Regions from separate parts of the Homo sapiens genome. Here regions 2, 3, 4, 5, 6 and 7 are each linked to region 1. The links are contacts of gene promoters, found by promoter capture Hi-C in blood cells and fetal thymus (Javierre and others, 2016). All regions are on one chromosome and are shown on one strand. Each heading gives the region's core, a stretch centred on a gene start or on the middle of the fragment in contact. The rest is flanking DNA. Distances are from core to core; before and after follow the strand shown. Region 1 holds the start of GP6 (glycoprotein VI platelet). Region 2 holds the start of NLRP9 (NLR family pyrin domain containing 9). Region 3 overlaps LENG8 (leukocyte receptor cluster member 8). Region 4 overlaps LOC105372460 (a long non-coding RNA gene). Region 5 holds the start of ZNF784 (zinc finger protein 784). Region 6 holds the start of CCDC106 (coiled-coil domain containing 106). Region 7 overlaps TTYH1 (tweety family member 1).

Region 1 (3,722 bases), core at 802-3,301:
GGCATGCAGAGTGATGTAATGGACTTCAGAGACTCAGAAGGGAAGGGCAGAAGTGGGGCAGGGATGAAAAACTACACATTAGGTACAAGGTACACTAGTCAGGTGACAGGTGCACTAAAATCTCAGAATTCACCAGAATATAATTCATCCATGTAACCAAGAACCACTTGTATCCCAAAAGCTACTGAAGCAACAAGCCAGATGCAGTAACCTGTACAGGCCACACCTGTAACCCCAACACTTTGGGAGGCCGAGGTGGGTGGATCGCTTGAGCCCAGGAGTTCAAGACCAGCCTGGGCAACATAGCGGACCCCCGTAACTAAAAAAATTACAAAAACAAGCCAGGCATGATGGTGTACAACTGTAGTTCCAGATACTCAGGAGGCTGATGGGGAGGCACTGGTTGAGCCTGGGAGGTTGAGGCTGCAGTGAGCCATGATCATGCCACTGCCCTCCTGCCTGGGTGACAGAAGTGAGGCCCTATCTCAAATAAAATTAAATAAATAAAAGTTAAAACAGGCTGGGTGCGGTGGCTCACGCCTGTAATCCCAGCACTTTGGGAGGCCGAGGCGGGTGGAACCTGAAGTAAGGAGCTTGAGACCAGCCTGGCCAACATGGTGAAACCCCGCCCCTACTAAAAATACAATAATTAGCCAGACCTGGTGGCAGATGCCTGTAATCCCAACTATTCGGGAGGCTGAGGCAGGAGAATCACTTGGACCCGGGAGGCAGAGTTTGCAGTGAGCTGAGATCATGCCATTGCATTCCAGCCTGAGCGACCGACTGAGCGAGACTCCATCTCAAAAAACAAACAAAAAGAAAAAAAGAATACATCCATGGATGGATAATGAATGAGAGGTTGTTTATATTCACAGTTAACCCTCTCATCTCCAGTAATGCAACCATCTTCTTCCTGCTTAGCCTTTTGGAGATGCTGTCCCTTTAGTGGTCAAATTCTGAAGAAATCAGGAAATAATGCATTCGACATGCCCAGCACAAGTGAAGATCAGGCAGCAGAAATGCATTCGACCTGCCACCCATCCATCAGGAGACTATTTACTCCACTACTGTAGGGGATACTGACAAATTAAATCCATACCTAGTCCAGATATCAATTCCACAATTTTTTTTTTTTTTTTTTTGAGACGGAGTTTCGCTCTTGTTGCCCAGGCCAGAGTGCAATGGTGTGATCTTGGCTCACCGCAACCTCCACCTCCCAGGTTCAAGCGATTCTCCTGCCTTAGCCTCCAGAGTAGCTGGGATTACAGGCATGTGCCACCACACCCGGCTAATTTTGTATTTTTAGTAGAGATGGGGTTTCTCCATGTTGGTCAGGCTGGTCTCAAACTCCCGACCTCAGATGGCCCACCCGCCTCGGCCTCCCAAAGTGTGTAAGCCATGGCACTCAGCCTTTTTTTTTTTTTTTTTTTTTTTTTTTGAGATGGAGGCTCTCTCTGTTGCCCAGGCTGGAGTGCAATGCCTGACCTCAGCTCACTGCAACTTCTGCCTCCCAGTTTCAAGCAATTCTCCCACCTCAGCCTCCCACGTAGCTGGGATTACAAGCACCCGCCATCACGCCCGGCTAATTTTTGTAGAGATGGGGTTTCACCATGTTGACCAGGCTGGTCTTGAACTCCTGACCTCAGGTGATCCACCCACCTCGGCCTCCCAAGGTTGAGATTACAGGCGTGAGCCACTGTGCCTGGCCCACATTTTTTAAAAAAGGGGCAACTGCAGTGTAGTAGAACAAAGTTGTGACCAATGCTAGGATACTCTGTTCATTTCCTGACCCAGCCATGAATACACTGGAATAACTCATGCAAAATGCCAGCTCGCTGGCCCCCCGTTTCCCCACCCAACAAATGAAGGGGCTCTTACAGGTTCCTTTTTGTCCTGAAATTCATCACCAATGCAAATTTCTTAAAAATCCTTTGTCTGGCAGTCCATGCCTGTCCTTCAGCATTTCCCAGATCTGACCCTCAGGACTCACCAAGACAGAAGAGGGCGGTCGGGGATGGAGACATGGTTCCTCAGCCCTGTCCTGAGCTCTGTGGCCAGGGAGGGAAGTGGTGGGAGCCTGGGGCACAGGCTCAGGATGTGATGAGGATGAAGAATGCTCTCCTCCCTTCCTCCACCAGCCCCGGCCTTTCCTAATTGAGACTCATCGAGCCGTAGCCGGCTCCTCAGTACAGTGACTTGCACACAAGCTCCAAGGAGCCGCGCTTATCTCCTCTGGCCAGCCTGGCGTTGCACCGTTTGTCCGCCTGCTGGGGCCTGGTCTGTGTTCCCGTGCTCCCATAAACTCCCTGATGTCACTAGGAAAATACGCATCAAAACCACAGTGAGATATGACTTCACACCTTCTGGAATGGCTGTATTTTTTTTTTTTCTTTTGAGACAAAGTCTCGTTCTTTTTGCCCAGGTTGGAGTGCAGTGGCGCCATCTCGGCCCACTACAACCTCCACCTCCCAGGTTCAAGCGATTCTCCTGCCTCAGCCTCCCAAGTGGCTGGGATTATAGGTATGTACCACACCAGGCTAATTTTTGTATTTTTAGTAGAGATGGGGTTTCACTGTGTTGGCCAGGCTGGTCTTGAACTCCTGACCTCAGTTGATCCACCTGCCTCGGTCTCCCAAAGTGCTGGGATTACAGGCATGAGCCACTGCACCCGACCGGCTATAATTTTTTTTAATGGAAAACAGCAGATATTGGTGAGTATGCAGAGAAATTGAACTGCGCGTGCATTGCTGGCAGGGACGTAACATGGCGCCCCTGCTGTGGAAAACAGTTCCAGCAGCTCCTCCAGAAGTTAAACGTGGGATTGCCATAAAATCCAGCAATTCCACTTCGGGGTACACACCTAAAAGAACTGAAAACAGGGTCTCTAACATATTTGTACACAGTGTTCATAGCAGCTTTATTCACAATAGCCAAAAGGTGAAACCACCCACATGTCCATCAACAACAATGGATAAACAACATGTGGTATATACACACAAGGTAATATCAACCAGCCTTAACTAAAAGAATAAAAATCAGCCAGGCACAGTGGCTCACGCCTGTAATCCCAGCACTTTGGGAGGCCGAGGCGGGCGGATCACCTGAGGTCAGGAGTCCGAGACCAGCCTGGTTAACATGGTGAAACCCCATCTCTACTAAAAATACAAAAATTAGCTGGGCGTTAAATTAGCCGGGCATGGTGGCAGGTGCCTGTAATCCCAGCTACTTGGGAGACGGAGGCATGAGAATCGCTTGAACCTGGGAGGCAGAGATTGCGGTAAGCCGAGATCGCACCACTGCACTCCAGCCTGGGCGGCAGAGTGAGACTGTCTCAAAAATAAAAATAAGGCCGGGCGTGGTGGCCCATGCCTGTAATCCTAGTACTTTAGGAGGCTGAGGCAGGCAGATTGCCTGAGCTCAGCAGTTCAAGACCAGCCTGGGCAACACAGTAAAACCCCCAAAAAATACAAAAAAAAAATAGCCGGGCATGGCGGCAGGCACCTGTAGTCCCAGCTACTCCGGAGGCTGAGACAGGAGAATGGCTTGAACCCGGGACGCGGAAGTTGCGGTGAGCCGAGATCGCGCCATTGCACTCCAGCCTGGGTGACAGAGCGAGATTCTGTCTCCAAAAAATAAAAAATATTATAAAAGAATAAATTCAGATACATGCTACAACGTGATGGACCTTGAAGACATTATGCTAAAGGAAATATTCCGGACTT
Region 2 (3,314 bases), core at 453-2,952, 700 kb after region 1:
GGTGCATGCCTGTAATCCCAGCTACTCGGGAAGCTGAGGAAGGAGAATCGCTTGAACCTGGGAGGCAGAAGTTGCAGTGAACCGAGATCATGTCACTGCCCTCCAACCTGGGCAACAGAGCAAGACTCCGTCTCAAAAAAATAAAACAAAAACAAAAAAAAAAACAAAAAACTAACACAGCAAGCAACTCCAAACCAAATAAAATACCCTCAAGCATGTGGGGATACGAAATAAGGTCTCAAATTAGAATTACCAACACAAAGAAGAAACATGAACAAAACAGAAGTAAACGTAACAGAAGTTGATGGAACTCAAAAGTAAAGGGAGAAGATAACAATCATCAGAAACAAATGCTAATTACTAGATACCTAATAGGGAATATATTTAGTTTTTCCTAAGTATCCCCCGAGAGGAGGGTGTAGACCCCATCAATGAGTCCAGCAGAACTGGTTCGGAGTCAGATCTGTCACTTTTGGAAAAGTCATGTAACACATGGGAACACTGTTTTGTCCAGTTTTCTCACTTGTAAACCTTTCCTGGGTTGTGATAAGAATGAAAAGACATTATGCAGAAAGAATGCTTCCAGGACGTGAGGACAACCTGGCTGTGATGTCTGTCACCCCATTGGTCGCCCCAGGGCTAATTCGGCTGATGTGGCCAGCTGGGTGGGTGTCCACTTCCTCCCTCACTGCTCCATATGCGTCCGTCCTGAAAGTCTCCCCTGGGTCAAAGACGATGACAACCTTTGCCCATAGAGGAAGGTCCTTCCATCGCGGGCAGAAGAGAAGCTGTGCTCCCCTACTAGAACCTCCAAACAAGCTCGCAAGAATGCTTCCTGTAGTACCCGGGACATACGCTGTCTGATTGTCTTAAGATTCTACCTACTCCTTGGTACATGTCTGGTCAAAAAGGACAGGCAGTTAGGCATGGTGGCTCACTCCTGTAATCACAGCACTTTGGGATGCCTAGGCAGGTGGATCACTTGAGCCTGGGAGTTCAAGACCAGCCTGAGCAACATGGCAAGACCCTTTCTCTAAAAAAAAAAAAAAAAAAAAAAAAAAGATAGGCAACTACCATACTAGAATTCCATCTCAGTAGACCTGGCAATGCAGACACTAACTGGCCACTCATCTCCTATAACAACGACTCCACTTGGGGTGGAAAAATGGGAAGACACTCCATAGGTGAACAGTTGGTATCAGGACGCCATCTGTCCCCAGTTCATCGCTGGCCCACATATGAACAGCCCTGGCCTGCAACTCTTCCTACCTTCAACTCTCACCTTGACCCACACACATTCTCATCTGATGGAGGGGGTGGCCACTCATTTAACAATGCTATCACCTTGTTCCCAGGCTTCCCCCATGGGTCCTCGCCCCATCATCCAGCACTTACTTCTCATCTCTTCCTGAGCCTTTGTCCAGAGATCTTTCCTATTGATCTGTAGAAACAGGTTCAGTGTTACCTCCCATGCCTGCTTTCCTGGGTAATGTTTGTCCAGCAGCTTTGCTACATCTTCTTTGGAGGCCTTCTTCAGCTCAGCCCAGGGGATTGGCTTGAGTTCAAATTTCTCCAAAGGTTGTTTGAGGAGCTCCTTAAATTTCCAAAACTCTTCCTTTCTGAGCTCCTTCAGATACCACAACAAGCCAAAATCCGAAAAAAAAGATTCTGCCATATCGCCCCAGGATTGTGAACTGAGGTGTCTCCAGAGGGAAAAGAAAGATCCTCAAAAATAAAGAATAAATGATACCTGGAGAAGAATGACATGATTACAGAGTTAAGCTTCAGCAGCTGAAAGCAGCTCAAAATTATTGATATCATCATGCGTAGCTTGCACCAAACATCATCTAGGGAAGAAGCTTCATCTTTTTCCAAACAAATGCATGTGAATGGTAGAGTTGACTGCCACTTATGTGTCTTGTTTTTGTCTGACATAAATGATGCTTCCAGGAACAAGTGTTTTTGTGTAGTTTGGTGTATATAAGCACACATTTCTCTAGATTTATAAATTATAGGTCAAACAGCAAACACAGGTCACCATGTTTGCTACATAACACTCAACGGTTTTCCCTTGTGTATATAATTACTGACATTCCTACCAGCATTCTATGAGTTTGTTTGCTCTGTAGACCTTCCCATCCTTAGTATAGTCTAATCCAATTTTGATAATGAAAAAATGAACGGATATTAAAATTACAGATGATCACATTCAGGAAGATGAAAATAAAGGAAGAGGACATAAAAGCAAATTTAAATTTTTTTTTATCGTTTAGTGGTATATGCCTTCTTTTTTTTTTTTTTTTTTGAGACAGAGTCTCGCTCTGATGCCCAGGCTGGAGTGCAGTAGCGCAATCTCGGCTCACTGCAAGCTCTGCCTCCCGGGTTCACGTCATTCTCCTGCCTCAGCCTCCTGAGTAGCTGGGACTACAGGTGCCTGCCACCACACCCGGCTAATTTTTTTGTATTTTTAGTAGAGATGGGGTTTTACTGTGTTCGCCAGGATGGTCTCGATCTCCTGACCTCGTGATCCACCCGCCTCGGCCTCCCAAAGTGCTGGGATTACAGGCATGAGCCACCGTGCCCGGCCGGTATATGCCTTCTTATTACAGTATATAAGGAAAAAGTTAGATTTACTATAGGTTAGCATCTGCAGACAACTCAGACAGAAACAGAGCAGTGAACGTTCCCAGTATTATAAACCCTTCAGATAATCATTGCAATTCAACAAAAGACAGGAAATGAAGTAGAAATATATGGTAGACAAAATAAGACAGGTGGCAAAAATAATACCAAATATATATAGATATGTATTTTGAGATAGAGTTTCACTCTTGTTGCCCAGACTAGAATGCAATGGTATGACCTCAGCTCACTGCAACCTCTGCCTCCCAGGTTCAAATGATTCTCCTGCCTCGTCCTCCCAAGTAGCTGGGATTACAGGCACCTGCCACCATGCCCGGCTAATTTTTTTTTTTTGTATTTTTAGTAGAGATGGGGTTTCACCATGTTGGCCAGGCTGGTCTCGAACTCCTGACCTCAGGTGATCCACCTGCCTCAGCCTCCCAAAGTGCTGGGATTATAGGCTTGAGCCACTGCGCCCAGCCTAAATATAATCTTAACACATATGAATGAAATAAAATTGCTCACTAATATATAGACTCACATTGGATAAATACAAATCCTGCTATATGCTGTTTATAAGAGAATCCTAGAAAATACACAGAGAAGTAAAACAGAAGAAGAAAAAGCCTGGCAAATTCTTACCCAAAAAAGTATTAATAGTATAAAATATCAGCATTGAAAAACACTCAAGC
Region 3 (3,455 bases), core at 71-2,570, 590 kb before region 1:
AAGGGGCCAGGGGCTTCCCCTCACTCCAGCCTTTCTAGTCCACACCCAGAACTCTTCAGATCCTTGACCCCAGTGGCTTTTCAGTCAGCCTCCCCTTTTCTGCCCGGCTTCTCTTGAGTCCATCTACTTTTCTTCCCCACTTTGTGACGTGTTTTTAGCTCCCCCTTAAGTCTCCCTAACTCATTCTTTTTCTCATAGACAGTGAAAAAGCAGTCTGGCTCCCGAGGTCCACCCCTTATACCCCAAGGTCCAGATGGCGGCCAACGTGGGTGATCAACGTAGCACAGATTGGTTAGTGAGGCGAGAGGGATGGAGGCCAGTCGGGAGGGAAAGAGGAAGCAAGACCCAGTGCTGTCCTCTGGGGTGGGACCTCCCGTGGCCTTAGGGGAGGTGATGCCACAATCCCTGTGGGTGGGGGTGGTGGTGAGGCAAACACAGAGGGAAGCATTTGGTTGTGGTGTGGAGAGGGGCAAGCTTTCACCTCTCTGAGCTTTCGTTTTTCACAGTACAGCGCTTGCTTTGCAGAATTGTGATGATTCATTCAAGCAAGTGTAATTAGGAGGCAGCTTCCCAACACTCAATACACAGTCATTTATTTGTTTTTCTGCTGATTCCTTATTTTTTCTCAAAATAGTGTGATAACCTGCCGACTGGGGTGATGTCAGACAGAATTCATTGATTCATGAAAGACATAGCCCTAGGAGGTGCCAAGGCCTGTGTTCAGTTCTGTGGGTTCTGTTAATTGTTTTGTTTGTTTGGTTTTAACAACTGCTGTGTGCCAGGCTCTGGGATAAGTACCTTAAGTAGGTGATCTCATTTATCCCTCCCAGCAGACTCTGAAGCAGAAACCCTTTATCAGCATAGTACAGATTAGAAAACTTAGGCTTAGACTGGTAGTAACAGTTAGATATGGGATCCAGGGGCTGGAATTTGCCTCCCAACTTGCCCACCTGTGTACAGTGGGGAGAACAGGTGTGACTTGATGTCCTCTCTCTCTGCAGGTCTTCTCAGTACAGCATGGTGGCTGGGGCAGGCCGAGAGAATGGCATGGAGACGCCGATGCACGAGAACCCGGAGTGGGAGAAGGCCCGTCAGGCCCTGGCCAGCATCAGCAAGTCAGGAGCTGCCGGCGGCTCTGCCAAGTCCAGCAGCAATGGGCCTGTGGCCAGTGCACAGGTGAGAAGGCCTCATGGGGCTGGGGTACCCTGAGCCAGAGGTTGTGGGAGGGACACAGTCTGGCGTCCTGTTGTATCATTCAGACGGGGTGCTCTGAGGGGAAACATGAAAAGACGTTCCAGGGTATCTAAATCTGAACGGGAAAAAGTTCTGTTTCCTTGAGGAAATTAGGGCGTGATGTGGTTCTGAAGAGGGAGGCCATGCCCATGCCCCTGGTCTCTAACGTGCGTGAGTCTCATGGTAGAGACAGTGGCTCACTTTGCAGATACATGGACCCAGTTTCATCCCTTGGCAATTGGCCACCAGTAAACAGGCTTGCCCTTTGGGGGCCGTGTGCCTGTGGATTTGGGCTGCTGACGGCACATGTGCCTCTGCTTCCACAGTACGTGTCCCAGGCAGAAGCCTCAGCTTTGCAGCAGCAGCAGTACTACCAGTGGTACCAGCAGTACAACTATGCCTACCCCTACAGCTACTACTATCCCATGGTGAGTGCCCAGCCAGTGGGGCGGGGCAGGGCGAGGTGGAGTCTGCTGGGTCGGGGCGAGGTGAAGTGGAGTCTGCCGGGATGGGGCTGGGTGGTGGATGGACTGGAGATCGCAGTGATAACTGCTCAGAAACCCTCTAACTTGCCCAGGAGGTAAATTCCTAGGTCCCCGCCATGAGCCACAAGGTCCTACATACCCGGTTCTGGTCCCTTCTCTCCTCATGCTCATTCTGCCATGGCCATCGAAGCAGAGACCTCCTTGATGCCCGCACCCGCCAGGCCCGCTCTCGCTTTGCCCTGGCTGCAGTGCTCCCTGTGTTGCCGCCTCTTGGAGGTCTCTGCTCAGATGCCGCCTTCAGAGAGCCTCTACCTGACACACTGATTGAAAGTAGCATTCCTGCCTCGCAGCCTGTCCCTCTCCCTTTCTTTGCCATCTTATTGTTTCATGATCCTTATTGCTGGATGTATTACATGTTGATGTCTCCAGCCGGACATGTAATTCCAGCACAAGCTTCATTACAGCATGGGTTTTCCTTTTGTTCTGTCGTAGTGCTTAGAAGAGTTGGCACTCAGTATCGTTGATTATATTCTTCCGAGAACTAGCTAAGTGAGATGTGGGATTGATAGAGGTTTTTCTTTTCCTAATATATGAGAGGATGTGGTGCATTAATATAGTGAAGAGAGAAAGGGGTGAGGGATTGGTAGAGGGTCATGGCTGGTGTAGTTCCTGAGCAGGCTGGGGAAGCGGAAAGGGTAGGCCTCCCACTAAACCCTCCCTCCCTGCGCCTTTGCAGAGCATGTACCAGAGCTATGGCTCCCCTTCCCAGTATGGGATGGCCGGCTCCTATGGCTCAGCCACACCCCAGCAGCCATCCGCACCCCAACACCAAGGGACTCTGAACCAGGTAACATCCTAGCCCAGCTCCCATACCCTGCTCAAGCAGAGGAAGTGTAGATTTTTGAATGAGCTGTCAATGAGGAATGGCTTGTACTCCTTAAGCTGCTTTTTTCCTTCCAAGCAACTCCTGATCTGAAAATGAGGAGGACAGAGCATAGTGTTTGAACCTGGGGTGGGTTTAAGGCTGAGCCAAGGCCAGGGCTGAGATGTTGAAAGACATCTCATCTTTTTCCCTAGCATGGTCACCCACAGGCGTGCACACACCGGCTGGGTTTTGCATTGAATGTGCAGCTTGGAGGAATGGCCGGGCTAGTGCACAGGAGGCAGGTAGACCTGGGTTTGAATCCCAGCTGTCCCACCCCTGGTGTAATTACGCATCTCGGTCAGCTCTCGAAAGCGGGAAGGATGGTAGCCTCATCCTTGGGCTCCATGAGTGTGTGTGCTCATGGGTGTCTTGTGCTCAGATGGTAGCGCTGGAGTGGGTGTGTTGTCGGTGGCTGTTACTCCAGCATTGAAACGCTGCCAGCTGCCGCTTCATAGCTTAGGGCCCTGGGAAGTCGCTTAGTCTCTGAGCTGGAGCCTTGTCAGCTGTGAAAAGGGCTGTTAACAAATGTTAACCTCACAGAGTTACTGAGGACTCGAATGAACTCACATTTGGGAAGGTCACGGGAGGGTTGAGTGCTGAGTGCTGTGACCACTGCGTCCTCACAGCGAGGGCTGAGTGCCACTCGCCAGCCCCAGAATCTGCCTCCCGTGCTCAGCGCCTGCTTCCTTCTGCAGCCCCCAGTCCCCGGCATGGATGAGAGCATGTCCTACCAGGCTCCCCCTCAGCAGCTGCCGTCGGCTCAGCCCCCTCAGCCCTCAAATCCCCCACATGGGGCTCACACGCTGAACAGT
Region 4 (3,361 bases), core at 138-2,637, 520 kb before region 1:
GTTACTCTAAAAACGATGATAATATTATCATAGTTTTGTGGCTACACAGAGCCTGATAAACTTTGCTCAGTAATAATACCTGTTTTTATGAATCATTGTTAACATTTTCTTGAAGGTCCTTGGACATCTGACATATTCCCTGATTTACTTTCCAAAGTTCTGGGCTCCCCATCTCAAGCTTACAGACTTAGCCTGGACGGATGCCGGCATTTGTTTTTTTCAAATATTTACTCAGCAACATCTCCTGGGACTCGGGACTCTGATGTGCCACATCCTGTATAGGAAACAGGTGATGTGGAAATGAGTCAGACTCAGCTCCTGCCCCTGACAGACTCTGACAGAGAAATCTGCAATGCACTGATAAGACTCTGCTACCAGAAGCTTAGGCGCTGCTGAAACGCAAAAGAGATACCAATTTATCTTTTCCTAAGGAGTGAAGGAAAGCCCCTTGGCCATGAAAACCCCTCAGATGGTACCAAAAATATAGACAATTGATCCAGAGAGGAAAAGAGGGGAAGGAAAGAGTAGAGAGCATCCTCAAATGAGAGAGCAGTGTATTCGGAAGCATCAGTAGCTATGAGAAGCTACAGGCTCAAACAAGGGGAAAGATTTAGGAGGAGAATTATTCTCAATTGCTGGAGTGAGGGGTTGAGCCAAATAGGTTAAATTAAAATTTTCATTGTTGACCATGGAAGGGCTGCGCACTGGGGCAATAGGAGAAACCTCCAGGAGTGTTCAGGGAAAGAAAGCAATTAAACGTGGATCATGTTTTTTGTTGTTGTTTTTGTTTTTTGTTTTTTTTTCTGAGATGAAGTCTCGCTTTGTCGCCCAGGCTGGAGTGCCATGGTGTGATCTTGGCTCACTGCAACCTCCACCTCCCGGGTTCAAGTGATTCTCCTGCCTCAGCTTCTGGAGTAGCTGGGATTACAGTCATGCACCACAAGGCCCAGCTAATTTTTGTATTTTTAGTAGAGATGGGGTTTCACCATGTTGGCCAGGATGGTCTCGATCTCCTGACCTCGTGATCTGCCTGCCTTGGCCTCCCAAAGTGCTGGGGTTACAGGTGTGAGCCATGGTGCCTGGCCAGATAAATTTTTAAAAGAGAGGGAGATTTGGCTGGGCATAGTGGCTCACGTCTGTAATCCCAGCACTTTGAGAGACTGAGGTGGGTGGATCACCTGAGGTCAGGAGTTCGAGAACAGCCTGGCCAACATGGCTAAACTCCATCTCTACTAAAAATACAAAAATTAGCCAAGCATAGTGGCAGGTGCCTGTAACCCTAGCTACTCAGGAGGTTGAGGCAGACGAATCGCTTGAACCCGGGAGGCAGAGGTTGCAGTGAGCCGAGATCACACCACTGCACTCCAGCCTGCAATAGAGAGAGACTCCATCTCAAAAAAATAAAATAAAATAAGAAGATGACTGTGGGAATGGTAAACTGATTTCCAGGATGGGATACCCAAAAGGCACTGCAGACCTGGGGAGAGGGTAGCAGCAATATTGACTTTCATTGTGGACACGGCGAGTAGAAAAGTCCTGTAGGGAACTCTATAGGTTCTTGCCTAAGGGAAGAGTCACAAAGCTGTTGGACAGAAATGGAAACACTACCAAAAGCATCAACGGAGAAGAGAAAAAGGAAAAGAGTACAAGGGATGGGGATAGGGTAGAAAAGGATGATTCTCAACAAGTCAGGATTTCTCCTACCCAAACATCTATGGTATACACCTGCCACTCCTTGCCAATACTTTTGTCATTATATATATATTTGAGACAGAGTCTTGCCCTGTCGCCCAGGTTGGAGTGCAATGGCGCAATCTCGGCTCACTGCAGCCTCCAACTCCCGGGTTCAAGTGATTCTCCTGCCTCAGCCTCCCGAGTAGCTGGGATTACAGTCACCCACCACCACACCCTGCTAATTTTTGTATTTCTTTATTTATTTTTTTAGTAGAGACAGGGTTTCACCATATTGGCCAGGCTGGTCTCCAACTCCTGACCTTGTGATCCACCCACCTTGGCCTCCCAAAGTCCTGGGATTACAGGCGTGAGCCACTGCGCCTGGCCTACAAATGTGTTAATATCTCAGGGTGTGTGTGTGTGTCTGGGGAGGGCCAGGTGGTTTTCTGTGCTGAGTTTGCTCTGTAGGGAAGAGCTGTGTTTTCTGGGGCTGTAGAGTTTAGCTCAGTCCTGATCATCAGCAATACGAATGTCAAACAGGAAGGCTTGTGTCTTATTTGGATGAAGATGCAGACCTGTGGAAGGATTTTGATCAGGGCCAGAAACAGGAAAGTTTGGGGCTATGAGAATTAATAGACATCAGCAGCAGTGAGGGTCTGGAGTAGGGGGCTGGGAGGAGGCTGATGTGGTGACAGAGACACGATGTCTTCAGTCTCCAGCTGAGCTTGGACTGTGGGGATGGGTCAGGGGACGTGGGTGAGGAGGGACTCGGGGAAAGAGCTGTTTGGATTTGTTCACGGTGTGGGGAGCAGAAGAGCGTGAGGAACTGAGAGTTGCTCCAGTCTCTGCCTTGGTTCACTGGAGGAGCCGATGGGGCTGTCTCGGGATGGATGACCCCAGGAGAAGCAGCAGGCAGGGGAGGTGTTGATAAGATGGATAACTGGCCTCAGAGAAAGCAGAGCCTCCCTCCAAGCCCGAGTGTGTGGTTTTGTTCCTCCCAAACACTTCCTTCATCTGACTTCCTTTGTTCTATAATTAGCAGCACCTTCTCTTCATTCTTCTCTTTCAAAACCTCTGATTCATTTCTACCTCCTCACTACAGTGTGTTTTCTGAAAGTTCTCAAAGCACAGACTAATTCCCATTTTCCAGGAGAACCACACATTTCATATGGCTTCAAGCCAGACAATGGGAATCCACGCAGAGAGAACATGCACGCACACAAACAGGAAGGACGCAGACGGGCTTTGGGGGTGACGAGGGACAGCTTCACCCTGAGGTCTCAGGCGAGGGGTGAGGAAGGAGACTCATGTGAACTCCTCTGTCTCTGCTCTCAGGCTTGTTCACAAAACCCTGCATCTCAGCGCACCCAAGCCCCCTGGTGCACGCAAGAGCCAGCGTGAGCCTGCGCTGTCACTCAGAGCTGGCCTTTGATGAATTTATCTTATACAAAGAGGGGCACACACAACATTCCCAGCAGTATGGTAGGATGATCCAGGCTGGGGATCACTCCTTCAAGGCTGTCTTTTCCATGGGTCCTATAACGCCTGCCCGTGCAGAAGCCTATAGGTGCTGTGGCTGTTTCAGTCACTCCTGCTATGAGTGGTCGGCTCCCAGTGACCCCCTGGACATTGTGATCACAGGTGAGTGTGGCTGGACCATTCATGGTCTTTTGGTGCCCAGGAAACT
Region 5 (3,314 bases), core at 661-3,160, 590 kb after region 1:
GAGAAGAAAGAGGAGCCTGTGGAACCTGCCTCAGGACCGCCCCAGCACGCCCCAATTATTAAAGCTTGGGCTCCTCTGTTATTTTCAGACAGGGCCTCACTCTGTTGCCCTGGCGCGATCGTGGCTCATTGCAACCTTGACCTCCTGGGCTCAAGCGATCCTCCCACTTCATCTCCCTGAGTAGCTGGGATTACAGGCATGCACCACCACATCCAGCTAGTTAAAAAAAAATTATTTCTGGCTGGGCACGGTGGCTCAGGCCTGTAATACCAGCACATTGGGAGGCTGAGGTAGGCAGATCACCTGAGGTCAGGAGTTCGAAACCAGCCTGGCCAACATGGCAAATACCGTTTCTACTAAAAATGCAAAAATTAGCCAGGTGTTGTGGCTGCTGCCTGTAATCCCAGCTACTCGGGAGACTAAGACACGAGAATCGCTTGAACCCAGGAGGTGGAGGTTGCAGTGAGATGTGATCATGCCACTGCCCTCCAGCTCAGGCGACAGAACAAGACTCCATCTTAGACAGCAAAACAAACAAAAATTATTATTATTATTTTTAATGTAGAGGGAGTCCCACTATGTTGCCCAGGCTGGTCTCCAACTACTGGGCTCAAGAGATCCTTCTGGCTCTGCCTCCTAAAGTGCTGGGATTGCAGGCGTGAGCCGCCGCGCCCGGCCCATCCTCCAGGATTCTGTTGTATCCTCATCAACATTTCCTCTCCTGTCCAAAATATATCATGGATCCCACCTTTTGTCCTCCACCCTAGTTAAAGCCCCATCACTTGGCGCCTCCAAAATTGAAAAACCCAAGGGCATCTCTGTTCCTATTTCTGCTGGCTTGTAACCCACCTCCCAGGAATAGCCTGAAGGTCTTTTGAAAATGTAAATCAGATCAAGTCATTTTTCGCACTCAAAACCCTCCAGTGGCTCCAAATGACTTATCCCAAATCGTCACTATAATATCTGTGGCGATGTAGCTCCACTTATCTCTCTGACCCCAGCTTAAACATAAGCCGGCACCCAGCTGACTTCTCTCGTCTAAATTTAGCTGCCCCACCCCTACTCTTGGCTCAATTTATAGAAATTGGCTCAATTTTTATTTCCTTTATAGAACATATCACAGTAACTCTCCTTTATTGTCTCTCTCCTCTCAAGAGACTGCAGGCTCCAAAAGAACACAACCCTTGTCTGTCTTGGTCACTTCTCTATTTACAGAGCCGAAGTAGGAGCTCAGTAAATGTTTGTTGAATGAATGAATGTCCTCAATTAGTCTAATTCTGAGTGGGGTAACGTGGAGGAAGTTCCAAAGTCACCTAGACCACCCACTTCTACCCCCAAATTCTCCCTTGGGCATTCGAGAAGCATCACTAAGACCCTTGAAGAATTATCCCCTACCCCGACATAGGTGCTCCAATCATAATCCCCCACGTTTTTCAGGGTCACCTTCCCAACCTTCTACCCTAGAATTAGCCCTAGAATTTATGAGGCCCCGCCCCTTACAAGGCTCCACCCAAATTATGCAAATTATCCCTGGTAAGCCCCCTTCCCTGGACCCAAACCCGTCCCACAAGACAACACCGTCCTCAGACTCCGCCCCCATCCAGGCCCCGCCCACCACCCATAGGTCCCTCCCCCACCCCGCCCACCATGACATAGTCTCCTCCCCTGCCCCGCCCCTCGCGAAACCACAAGAAGCCCCACCCCCAGGGCCATAGCACTAAATACCTCCCTCGCCCACCCCCTCATAGGCCACGCCCCGGACCCGCCCCCCACACTACGACCTCCTCCCACCTCGAGCCCCACGCCCAGGCCCCTTCCTTGCCCGCACCAGGTCCAGTGGCTCCTGGGATCGCGACTCCGGAGTCGGTGAGCTCCGACTCTGGGCCTCTGGGCGCGCAGCGGCCATCTTGTGCCCAAGCCCCGCCCCCAAGGCCAATGTTCGCTCTGAAAGGGGGTGGGGCTCGAACTGGCGTAAGAGCTACTGCGCAGGCGCAGTGCGGGGCTGCGAGGGGGCGTGGTGCAGCAGGGGGCGTGGCGGGGCGGGGCGTGGCGGCTGAGCCCGGGAGAATGTGAGTTGTTCCCTCTCTAATTACCTGTCTGTCCCTCCGAGGGTACGCTCTGTGTGGCGCTAGGATGCCTGTAACACCCTGGGAACAAATCCGAACGTTCCTTCTAAACCAACGCAGGCCGACTCGAGGCTCTGGCTGTCAGGGGAACCTCAGCAGAACTGAAGAAGCTTTGCTTTGTTTCCACGGTAAACGTTTTTGTGATTACCTCTGCACTGCTCATGACAACGTAATGACGCCAAGTTTATAAACGTCGGTGTAGGCCGGGTGCGGTGGCTCATGCCTGTATTCTCAGCTACTCGGGAGGCTGAGGTGGGAGGATCGCTTGAGGCCGGGAGGTCGAGGCTGCAGTGAGCCATGATCTCGCCACTGCATGCAGCCTGAGTGACAGAGACTCTGTCAAAAAAAAAAAAAAAAAAGGCAGTGTGGAGAAAAATATTCAGTAAACAGCAACACAGGTGGTCCTGGGAGGACGCAAAAACCCGCAAGCTGATGTTATGTTTGGGAGGAAAGAGCTCAAAAACGCGGGGTTTTCAGCAGCATCAAGGACGGGGCTCTTCTTAGCTGCCCCGTTTAGTCATTCTGGTGGTATCACCTTGGATAAGTCACTACACTTCTCTGGACCATTTCTCTTTCTTTTGTGTAGCACTGTAGAAGCATTGTGACAAACCACTGAGAAGAGACATGGAAGAGTTTGGAAACATCTTTAAATAGTTTTCTTGAAAGGGCAGGATAGGAGATACTTAAACATGATCCTAAGCATGATCATTTCATTCATAAATATATATGAAATTATATTTTGTGATATGTTGGTATAAAATAAAGATAAACACCACTTAGGCTGAATTATCTCCTCCTCCTCCTTTCTTCTTCTTTTATAGAGATGGGGATCTTGCTGTCTTGCCTTGCCCAGGCTGGTCTTGAACTCCTAGCCTTAAGCGATCCTTCTGCCTTGGTCTTCCAAAGCTATATTTCCCTTCTTTTCTTTTGATTTTAAAATAATTTTTTTTTTTTTGAGATGGAGTCTCACTCTGTCGCCCAGGCTGGAGTGCAGTGGCATGATCATGGCTCACTGCAACCTCTGCCTCCCGGGCTCAAGCGATTCTCCTGCCTCAGCCTCTTGAGTAGCTGGGATTACAGGTGCCCGCCACCATGCCCGGCTAATTTTTGTATTTTTAGTATATACAGGGTCTCACCATGTTGGCCAGGCTGGTCTCGAACTCCTGACCTCAGGTGATCCGCCCACCT
Region 6 (3,454 bases), core at 770-3,269, 610 kb after region 1:
GAGTTTCGCTCTTGTCACCCAGGCTGGAGTGTAATGGCGTGATCTCAGCTCACTGCAACCTTCACCTCCTGGGTTCAAGCGATTCTCCTGCTTCAGCCTCCCAAGTAGTTGGGGTTACAAGCGTGTGCCACCATGCCCAGCTAATTTTGTACCTTTAGTAGAGATGGGTTTCACCGTGTTTGTCAGGCTGGTCTCGAACTCCTGACCTGAGGTGATCCACACACCTCGGCCTCCCTCAGGGCACTAGGCCTCGAAACAAAAGTTTTTTTTTTTTTTTTCTTTTGAGACGGAGTCTTGCTCTGTCGCCCAGGCTGGAGTGCAGTGGCGCAATCTCGGCTCACTGCAAGCTCCGCCTCCCGAGTTCATGCCATTCTCCTGCCTCAGCCTCCTGAGTAGGTGGGACTACAGGCGCCCGCCACCATGCCTGTCTAATTTTTTGTATTTTTAGTAGAGACAGGGTTTCACTGTGTTAGCCAGGATGGTCTCGATCTCCTGACCTCGTGATCCGCCCCCCTCTGCCTCCCAAAGTGTTGGGATTACAGGCGTGAGCCACTGCGCCCGGCCCACAAAAATTTCTTTACCATAGTTAGCTTTAGTTTGTGCATTTTTTTTTCCATCAACTATTATTATTACTATTTGAGACGGAGTCTCGCTGTGTCGCCCAGGCTGGAGCGTGGTGCGATCTCGGCTCACTGCAACCTCCACCTCCCCGGTTTAAGCGATTCTCCTGCCTCAGCCTCCTGAGTAGCTGGGATTACAGGTGTGCACCACCACGCCCGGCTAAATATTTTTTTAAACTGCTGATTTCATCCTATTCTATTGAATTCTCCACCCATGAACCTGTAGTTTGGAAAAGACCAATCTAGGGCAGATGGCTCCCCCTGGAATTTTTGGACCAGGCTGCAGTTAATCTGTAAAGTGGGGAGGGGAGGATCATGGTCACAGCTTTGCAGGCGGTGCAGACATTTAGATTCTCCCTCCATCGGGTTAAGACCTTGCTCTTATAAGGGCTGGCCACAGTCCAGAGCTTGGATGCTTCTGGTGAACAGGAGAGGCAGGTGGAGCTGAGCCTGAAGCTTAATAAACATCTGCTTATTCATTCATTTTTCTTGCCTATTTTGTGCCAGGCACTGTGCTAGGCCTCATTTGCTCTTCCGACCTGTTTTTTTGGGAGGAAGAACAAATCTTCCGTTCATACTCCCCAGAGTGGGAAAGAGCCTCCCAGAGGCTGCCATCATACCCCACCATCTGACCTCAAATAATACCAGCAGCGCTCCTCTCTTCAGCCCTGACGATGGCCAGGTGCTGGGCTGAGCTTCTGTGTGTCGCATCACTGCATCCTCACAATAAATTTAGAAGGGCTTGTAATTTCCCCATTTTGCAGGTGAGTTAACAGGCTGGGGAGGAGCAGGAACAGTCAGGACTGGAATCTAGCTTTGCTCCAAAGCCAGCTCTTAATTACCAACATGGGGATGGGGGTGGCGTGTTCCTGGCCCTCATTTTCCGGGAGAGGGGTAACTCCCCCGATTTTGGCCCCCACATCCCTGAGAACCTTGGGGTCTGGCTGTAGGAGGTAGGGGAGCTCTGAGGGGTCCGCGCTGGCTAGTTCCTGAGAGAGCGTTAAAAGTAGATTCTCCTTTCGCTCCAACTTTCTCGGTGTCTCAAACACTCTCCTGCCTTCTGGGCCCATTGGGCACACCGCCACCCAATCCGGGGACCCCCGGAGACTCGCCAGCTCTCCAGGATGGGAATTTCGTGATGTTCCCTGCCTGAGCTTCGGGGAGGGCGGGGGAGTGCTGTAAGGGGCTATCGCGCAAGTGCAGACCCTCTGCTTCTGCCGCAAACGGCGGGCCTCACCTGGACCCGGGGACTCTTCAACGAGGGGCGCTAGCCTGGCCCGACTGGGCGAGTCCCCGCGTCCCTGCCCGTTCCGTCGCTCAGTTCCACGACACGCTCCCCTGCCGCCCCGCCTGTTCGCGGGTGGGTGGGCGCTTCCCTCGGCTCCCCGTGACACTTTGCAGACGCTCCCCGGCGCCGGGCATGGGCGCCGCCGCCGTCGGTCCCCGAGCCGGATTCCGCGAGCGGGTGGGTGAGCGCGGGGGGCCTCGGCCCCTCGGACCCCGGGCACCCGCGGGCGGGGGATGGTGGCCGCGTTTGCACCCCCGCCCTAGTGCATGTTCCCGCTGGAATCGTTCCACGACCGCTCCCCCTCCCACCCGCGGGACAAAGGGCGGGGGCGGGGGGGGCGCACCCCCACGCGTGACCTTTCCCCGTACTGCGCACGCGCCCAGCCCCCACCACCGGGGGACGGTCCGCCCGCCCACGCGAGTGCGGGGGAGGGGTGTGGGGGCCCCGAAGGTAGAGGAGGCAGCGCGCACGGGCTGGACCTCCTCCTACCCTGGGAAGTTGGGGCAGTTTCCCCCTGCACCTGCCTCTTCCTTAGGCCTGGCAGTGGCCCGCGATGAGAGAGGGTCCTTCCCCTTCAGGCTAGGTGTCCCTGGTCAGGCGACCCCTTGGGGCACCCAGCAATTTAGGGCTTCAGCTTCCTTTTCCTTCGATACCCAGGAGCCCACGTCCCCAGCTCACTTCTCCCCCAGGACCTAGGCGGCTGGGCCCCCTGCCCCTGACTCCAGGAGCCCAGGAGTTTGAAGCCCAGGCGCGTTTTGCCTCAGTCCTGGGGTCCAGGCTCCCTCCTCCCTCAGACCAGGGGTCCAGGCCAGAAGGTCCCTCCTGTCTCACTTCACCTCCCCCAGGATGGACCCTCCAGTCCATCTGCGTCTCTCCATTTGTGGCTGCCGTTTCTGTCCAGTGCCCCTGAGGCCCTCGGCTGCTGGGGTCCGTAGGAAGCCGCGCCATGAATGACCGGAGCAGTCGGAGGCGGACAAGTGAGGAAGCTGGGTCCCCTTCCCTACCCTGGGTCCCAGTGCGGTCGGCTCCAGGCTGCCGTGGTTGGGGGGTGGCCTGAGAGGCCCGGGGAATTCTCTGGGGTAACCCGGGGCCTCTCCTCTCCAGTGAAGGACGATGAGACCTTCGAGATCTCCATTCCCTTCGATGAGGCACCCCACCTAGACCCACAGATCTTTTACAGTCTGAGCCCCTCTCGGAGAAACTTCGAGGGTGAGCTGAGGGGGTGTGGAGGGACTGGAGTCAGCTGGGAAGCCAAGCCCTGAGTCCCAGGGTGTGACCTGGTCCCCCCACCCTCGCTGTGTCCCTAGAGCCTCCGGAGGCTGCGTCCTCCGCCCTGGCTCTGATGAACAGCGTCAAGACCCAGCTGCACATGGCTCTGGAGAGGAACTCCTGGCTGCAGAAGCGCATCGAGGACCTGGAGGAAGAGAGGGACTTCCTGCGGTGCCAGCTGGACAAATTCATCTCTTCTGCTCGGATGGAGGCAGGTGTGTGTGGGGTGCTCTGATCCACATGCCTCCCTGTCCCGCTACTGGGTACCCGCTCACCC
Region 7 (3,664 bases), core at 914-3,413, 620 kb before region 1:
CAGGGAGGTGCGAGTTAAATCGGGGGCTCCCTCCCCCCCACCACTCCACCCACCATTAACATCACAATGACGTCCCTCCGCTGGGGGAGTGAGGCCTTCCCGTTCCCTTGGCAACCGACGGGGGCCAGGCTGAAGTCGCCCTTTTCCCACGGGCTGGCCCAATGAGGTGGGGCTGAGATGGGAGGGGTGGATAAGAAGGCGAGGTGGAGGGGATGGGGTGGGAGGGGACGGTGGCCCCCGGGGTCCTGGGACCCGCTGAGATTCCTCTCCCTCCTCCTCCGCTCAGCACTGGCATTGGCATCGGTTTCTATGGCAACAGTGAGACCAGTGATGGGGTGTCCCAGCTCAGCTCTGCGCTGCTGCACGCCAACCACACACTCAGCACCATTGACCACCTGGTGAGGGGCCAGCAACCAGTGGGACCCCAGACCCACACCTGGACGGGCTCCCCACACCCAAGGACAAAGGGATCCAAACTCAGAGCTAAGACCCCAGGCTTGAAGCTTAGGAACCCAGATTCAGAACTTCATCCTGAGACCCACAGACCTCAGACTATCCACCCAACCCCCGACCCTGGCTGCAAATTGAGGACCTCACACACAGGCCCAGCCCTGGACCTTACCTGGAACCCCCAAGCCACACAGAAACCAAGCACCAGCGACACCAGCCCCTGTCCACGGGCCAGATCCAGGGCCCCAGACCTGATTCTTGGCCCGTAAGCAAGCTCAGGGACCCCCGCCCTGAGGCCCAGGTCCCCGACTTGAGGCTTCAGCTCCGACATCAGCTCCAGGATTCTGGGCCCTGGGGCTGAGGCCTGGCCCCACTTCATGCCTTAGATTCCATGTCCAGCTGCAGACTCTAGACCATGGGACCCAGACTTGAGACCCCAGATTCTGGAAGGCAGATGAAAACTTCAGACCTAAAGCTCCACACTTAATCTCAGTCCTGGGGCTGGACTTACTACCCTGGGCTCAAGCTACCAACCATCCAGAGCTCTGGATAGAGGCCACAGAACTCCATGAACTTGATCTTGAAGCCCCTCCCCAATCCCTTCCCTTACTCAATCCTCAGATGTCCCAGACTCCAGATCTCAGACACCCGCTACTATGCACCCCTCCTTCACTTCTAAAACCCCATGCCTCGACCGCGGGCTCCCCCCAGGATGTCCTTCCAGACCTCAGCCCCTGTCCTATCCCCAGGTGTTGGAGACGGTGGAGAGGCTGGGCGAGGCGGTGAGGACAGAGCTGACCACCCTGGAGGAGGTGCTCGAGCCGCGCACGGAGCTGGTGGCTGCCGCCCGAGGGGCTCGACGGCAGGCGGAGGCTGCGGCCCAGCAGCTGCAGGGGCTGGCCTTCTGGCAGGGAGTGCCCCTGAGCCCCCTGCAGGTGGCTGAAAATGTGTCCTTTGTGGAGGAGTACAGGTGAGACGCTGCTCTTCTTGCTCTCTGTGCCGGCAGCTCTCAGGCGGAGTCCCCGGGGGGACAGTTGGCAATGCCTGGAGGCAGTTTTGGTTGTGACAGCTGGGGAGTGTGTGCGCACTGCTGGCATCCAATGGGTAGAGCCCAGGAACTGTTCAACACCCTGCAATGCACAAGAACCCCCTCCCCACCCATTGGCAGGGAATGATCCAGCCACCATGACAATTATGACGAGGCTGGCCAGGCGCGGTGGCTCAGGCCTGTAATCCCAGCACTTTTAGGAGGCCAAGGTGGGTGGATCACCTGAGGTCAGGAGTTTGAGACCAGCCTGGCCAACGTGGAGAAACCCCGTCTCTACCAAAAATACAAAAATTAGCTGGGCGTGGCGGCAGATGTCTGTAATGCCAGCTACTCAGGAGGCTGAGGCAGGAGAATCCCTTGAACCCGGGAAATGGAGGTTGCAGTGAGCCGAGATTTCACCATTGCACTCCAGCCTGGGCGATAGAGTGAGACTCCATCTCAAAAAAAAAAAAAAAAAAAAAAAGATGAGGTTGAGAAACCTACTGTGGAGGGACAGATCACCAGACCCCATGGCCATCCTGACACCCATGTCCTCACCCATTCACTCACTCACCCCCTCCACGTCACTCCACTCACTTATTCACACATGCGTTCATTCCTTGACTCACTCATTCAGCAAGTCACTCTTGGACTCAGTTACTCCTGGACTAACCCAGCAGGCCACTCACTCAGTCGTTCATCCGTGTGACATGTGTATTTGTTCAGCACTATTTTTTTTTTTTTTTTTGAGATGGAGTCTCACTCTGTCGCCCAGGCTAGAGTGCAGCGGTGCGATCTCGACTCACTGCAACCTCCGCCTCCTGGATTCAAGCGATTCTCCTGCCGCAGCCTCCCAAGTAGCTGGCATTACAGGCAGGCGCCACCACGCCCGGCTAATTTTTGTATTTTTAGTAGAAACGGGGTTTCACCATGTTAGCCAGGCTGGTCTCAAACTCCTGACCTTGTGATCTGCCCGCCTTGGCCTCTCAAAGTGTTGTTCAGCACTATTTATTTAGCACCCTCTGGTGAAAGAGGCAGCGTACCTACAGATCAGGAACCTGAGCTCGAAAGCCAGCCAGCCCCACCCTAACCACGCGGCTGCAATCAAGTTACTTTGCAGACCTCTGCCTTGGTTTCCCCATCTGTGAAATGGGAATCGGGGCAGCGTCCCCCTTGTTGAATTGGTTCGAGTTGTTGAGTTGGCATCTGAGTGCTGAGAAGGACGATTAGCACAGGGAGAGCACCGCAGAGATATGAAGTGTAGTCACCCCGGTGGCGGGCCGGGCAGTGAGCAAGTGGCAGAAATCCCTGCCACGTGGCTGCGTCCTCCGGGGGGAACCAGCAAGGGACAAACGCAGAGAAAAACATTGTAAGGTGTTGGGCCATGAGAACTTTGGAGAAAATTACAGAGGGGACCAGGCACGGTGGTTCACGCCTGTAATCCCAGCACTTTGGGAAGCCGAGGCAGGCGGATCACGAGGTCAAGAGATCGAGACCATCCTGGCTAACACGGTGAAATCCCGTCGCTACTAAAAATACAAAAATTAGCCGGGCGTGGTGGTGGGCGCCTGTAGTCCCAGCTACTTGGGAGGCTGAGACAGGAGAATCGCTTGAACCCAGGAAGTGGAGCTTGCAGTGAGCAGAGATCGTGCCACTGCACTCCAGCCTGGGTGACGGAGCGAGAATCCGTCTTAAAAAAAAAAAAAGAAAATTATAGAGGGAGATGAGGTGGGACAGAGTCTGGCAGTTCATCAGGGGGACTGAGAAGGTGGCATTTGGAGGAGAGGAGGCAGTGAGCTGTGCAGTGTCCAGGCAGCCACCCTTCCCAGCGGCCACCATGACGGTGTCCTCATTGCTTTGACCATTAGTAATCATTCATTCATTCATTCATTTATCCGACGTCAGCTGGAGGCCCTGCCCGCGGGGCATGCGCTGAGATTTGGGAGGCCTTCCGGGATGCTGCGCTCCAGCGGGGAAGGCCGACTGGGGCTGAAAAAGCTGGAGGTCAGGACACACCCGCAGGGCAGCAGGTGCAAGAGACAGACAGGCCTGGGTTTGAAGAAGTCCAGGTTCTGCATTGTGGTCAGGCCCAGGGGCTGCACAAGCCGGGCCTCAGCTCCTTCTCCTGGGCGAGGGCAGGGAAGTGGTGGGAGCCATAAGGGTGATGCCAGGGTGAGGCAGACCCAC

What was found. The method cuts DNA at HindIII sites, captures the fragments that hold promoters and counts their contacts. A CHiCAGO score of 5 or more calls a contact.
Region 2: a contact is called between the fragment with the promoter of NLRP9 here and the fragment with the promoter of GP6 in region 1, in 2 of 17 cell types (naive CD4 T cells and neutrophils). The highest score is 6.1, in naive CD4 T cells.
Region 3: a fragment that was not itself captured here is called in contact with the fragment with the promoter of GP6 in region 1 in 1 of 17 cell types (M0 macrophages); the score reaches 5.2 in M0 macrophages.
Region 4: a fragment that was not itself captured here is called in contact with the fragment with the promoter of GP6 in region 1 in 1 of 17 cell types (M1 macrophages); the score reaches 5.9 in M1 macrophages.
Region 5: a contact is called between the fragment with the promoter of ZNF784 here and the fragment with the promoter of GP6 in region 1, in 3 of 17 cell types (naive CD8 T cells, total CD8 T cells and total CD4 T cells). The highest score is 8.4, in naive CD8 T cells.
Region 6: the fragment with the promoter of CCDC106 here is called in contact with the fragment with the promoter of GP6 in region 1 in 3 of 17 cell types (non-activated CD4 T cells, naive CD8 T cells and total CD4 T cells); the score reaches 7.6 in non-activated CD4 T cells.
Region 7: a contact is called between a fragment that was not itself captured here and the fragment with the promoter of GP6 in region 1, in 1 of 17 cell types (monocytes). The highest score is 5.5, in monocytes.

The regions. Positions count from the first base shown.
Region 1 is chr19:55,036,213-55,039,934 of GRCh38, forward strand. It overlaps GP6 (glycoprotein VI platelet), which reads right to left and starts at 2,052. Exons shown (of 8, transcript NM_016363.5): 1 at 1,991-2,052. The coding sequence starts at 2,024. The region is part of intron 2 of GP6-AS1 (GP6 antisense RNA 1); the gene reads left to right. It also overlaps a transcript of RDH13 not described here. The HindIII fragment of the contact is 26,016 bases long and covers 1-3,722 here.
Region 2 is chr19:55,736,700-55,740,013 of GRCh38, forward strand. NLRP9 (NLR family pyrin domain containing 9) reads right to left here and starts at 1,703. Exons shown (of 9, transcript NM_176820.4): 1 at 1,396-1,703. The coding sequence starts at 1,675. It also overlaps the pseudogene RN7SKP109. The HindIII fragment of the contact is 10,494 bases long and covers 1-1,780 here.
Region 3 is chr19:54,451,092-54,454,546 of GRCh38, forward strand. It overlaps LENG8 (leukocyte receptor cluster member 8), which reads left to right. Exons shown (of 16, transcript NM_052925.4): 2 at 199-291; 3 at 1,002-1,176; 4 at 1,560-1,661; 5 at 2,455-2,565; 6 at 3,339-3,455. The coding sequence starts at 254. Among named protein-coding and RNA genes, the nearest start is that of LENG8, 3.6 kb to the left of the region's middle. The HindIII fragment of the contact is 1,697 bases long and covers 473-2,169 here.
Region 4 is chr19:54,518,715-54,522,075 of GRCh38, forward strand. The region is part of intron 2 of LOC105372460 (a long non-coding RNA gene); the gene reads right to left. Among named protein-coding and RNA genes, the nearest start is that of LAIR2, 18 kb to the left of the region's middle. The HindIII fragment of the contact is 2,017 bases long and covers 380-2,396 here.
Region 5 is chr19:55,622,656-55,625,969 of GRCh38, forward strand. It overlaps ZNF784 (zinc finger protein 784), which reads right to left and starts at 1,911. Exons shown (of 2, transcript NM_203374.2): 1 at 1,829-1,911. The coding sequence starts at 1,906. RefSeq lists enhancers at 1,892-2,391, 2,142-2,291 and silencers at 1,892-1,941, 2,012-2,071. The HindIII fragment of the contact is 2,172 bases long and covers 63-2,234 here.
Region 6 is chr19:55,646,193-55,649,646 of GRCh38, forward strand. It overlaps CCDC106 (coiled-coil domain containing 106), which reads left to right and starts at 2,020. Exons shown (of 5, transcript NM_001370470.1): 1 at 2,020-2,885; 2 at 3,013-3,117; 3 at 3,216-3,392. The coding sequence starts at 2,855. RefSeq lists silencers at 2,096-2,215, 2,246-2,375 and an enhancer at 3,436-3,454. The HindIII fragment of the contact is 17,145 bases long and covers 1,075-3,454 here.
Region 7 is chr19:54,420,991-54,424,654 of GRCh38, forward strand. TTYH1 (tweety family member 1) reads left to right here. Exons shown (of 14, transcript NM_020659.4): 3 at 287-398; 4 at 1,200-1,420. Among named protein-coding and RNA genes, the nearest start is that of TTYH1, 7.4 kb to the left of the region's middle. RefSeq lists an enhancer at 1,195-1,995. The HindIII fragment of the contact is 3,325 bases long and covers 502-3,664 here.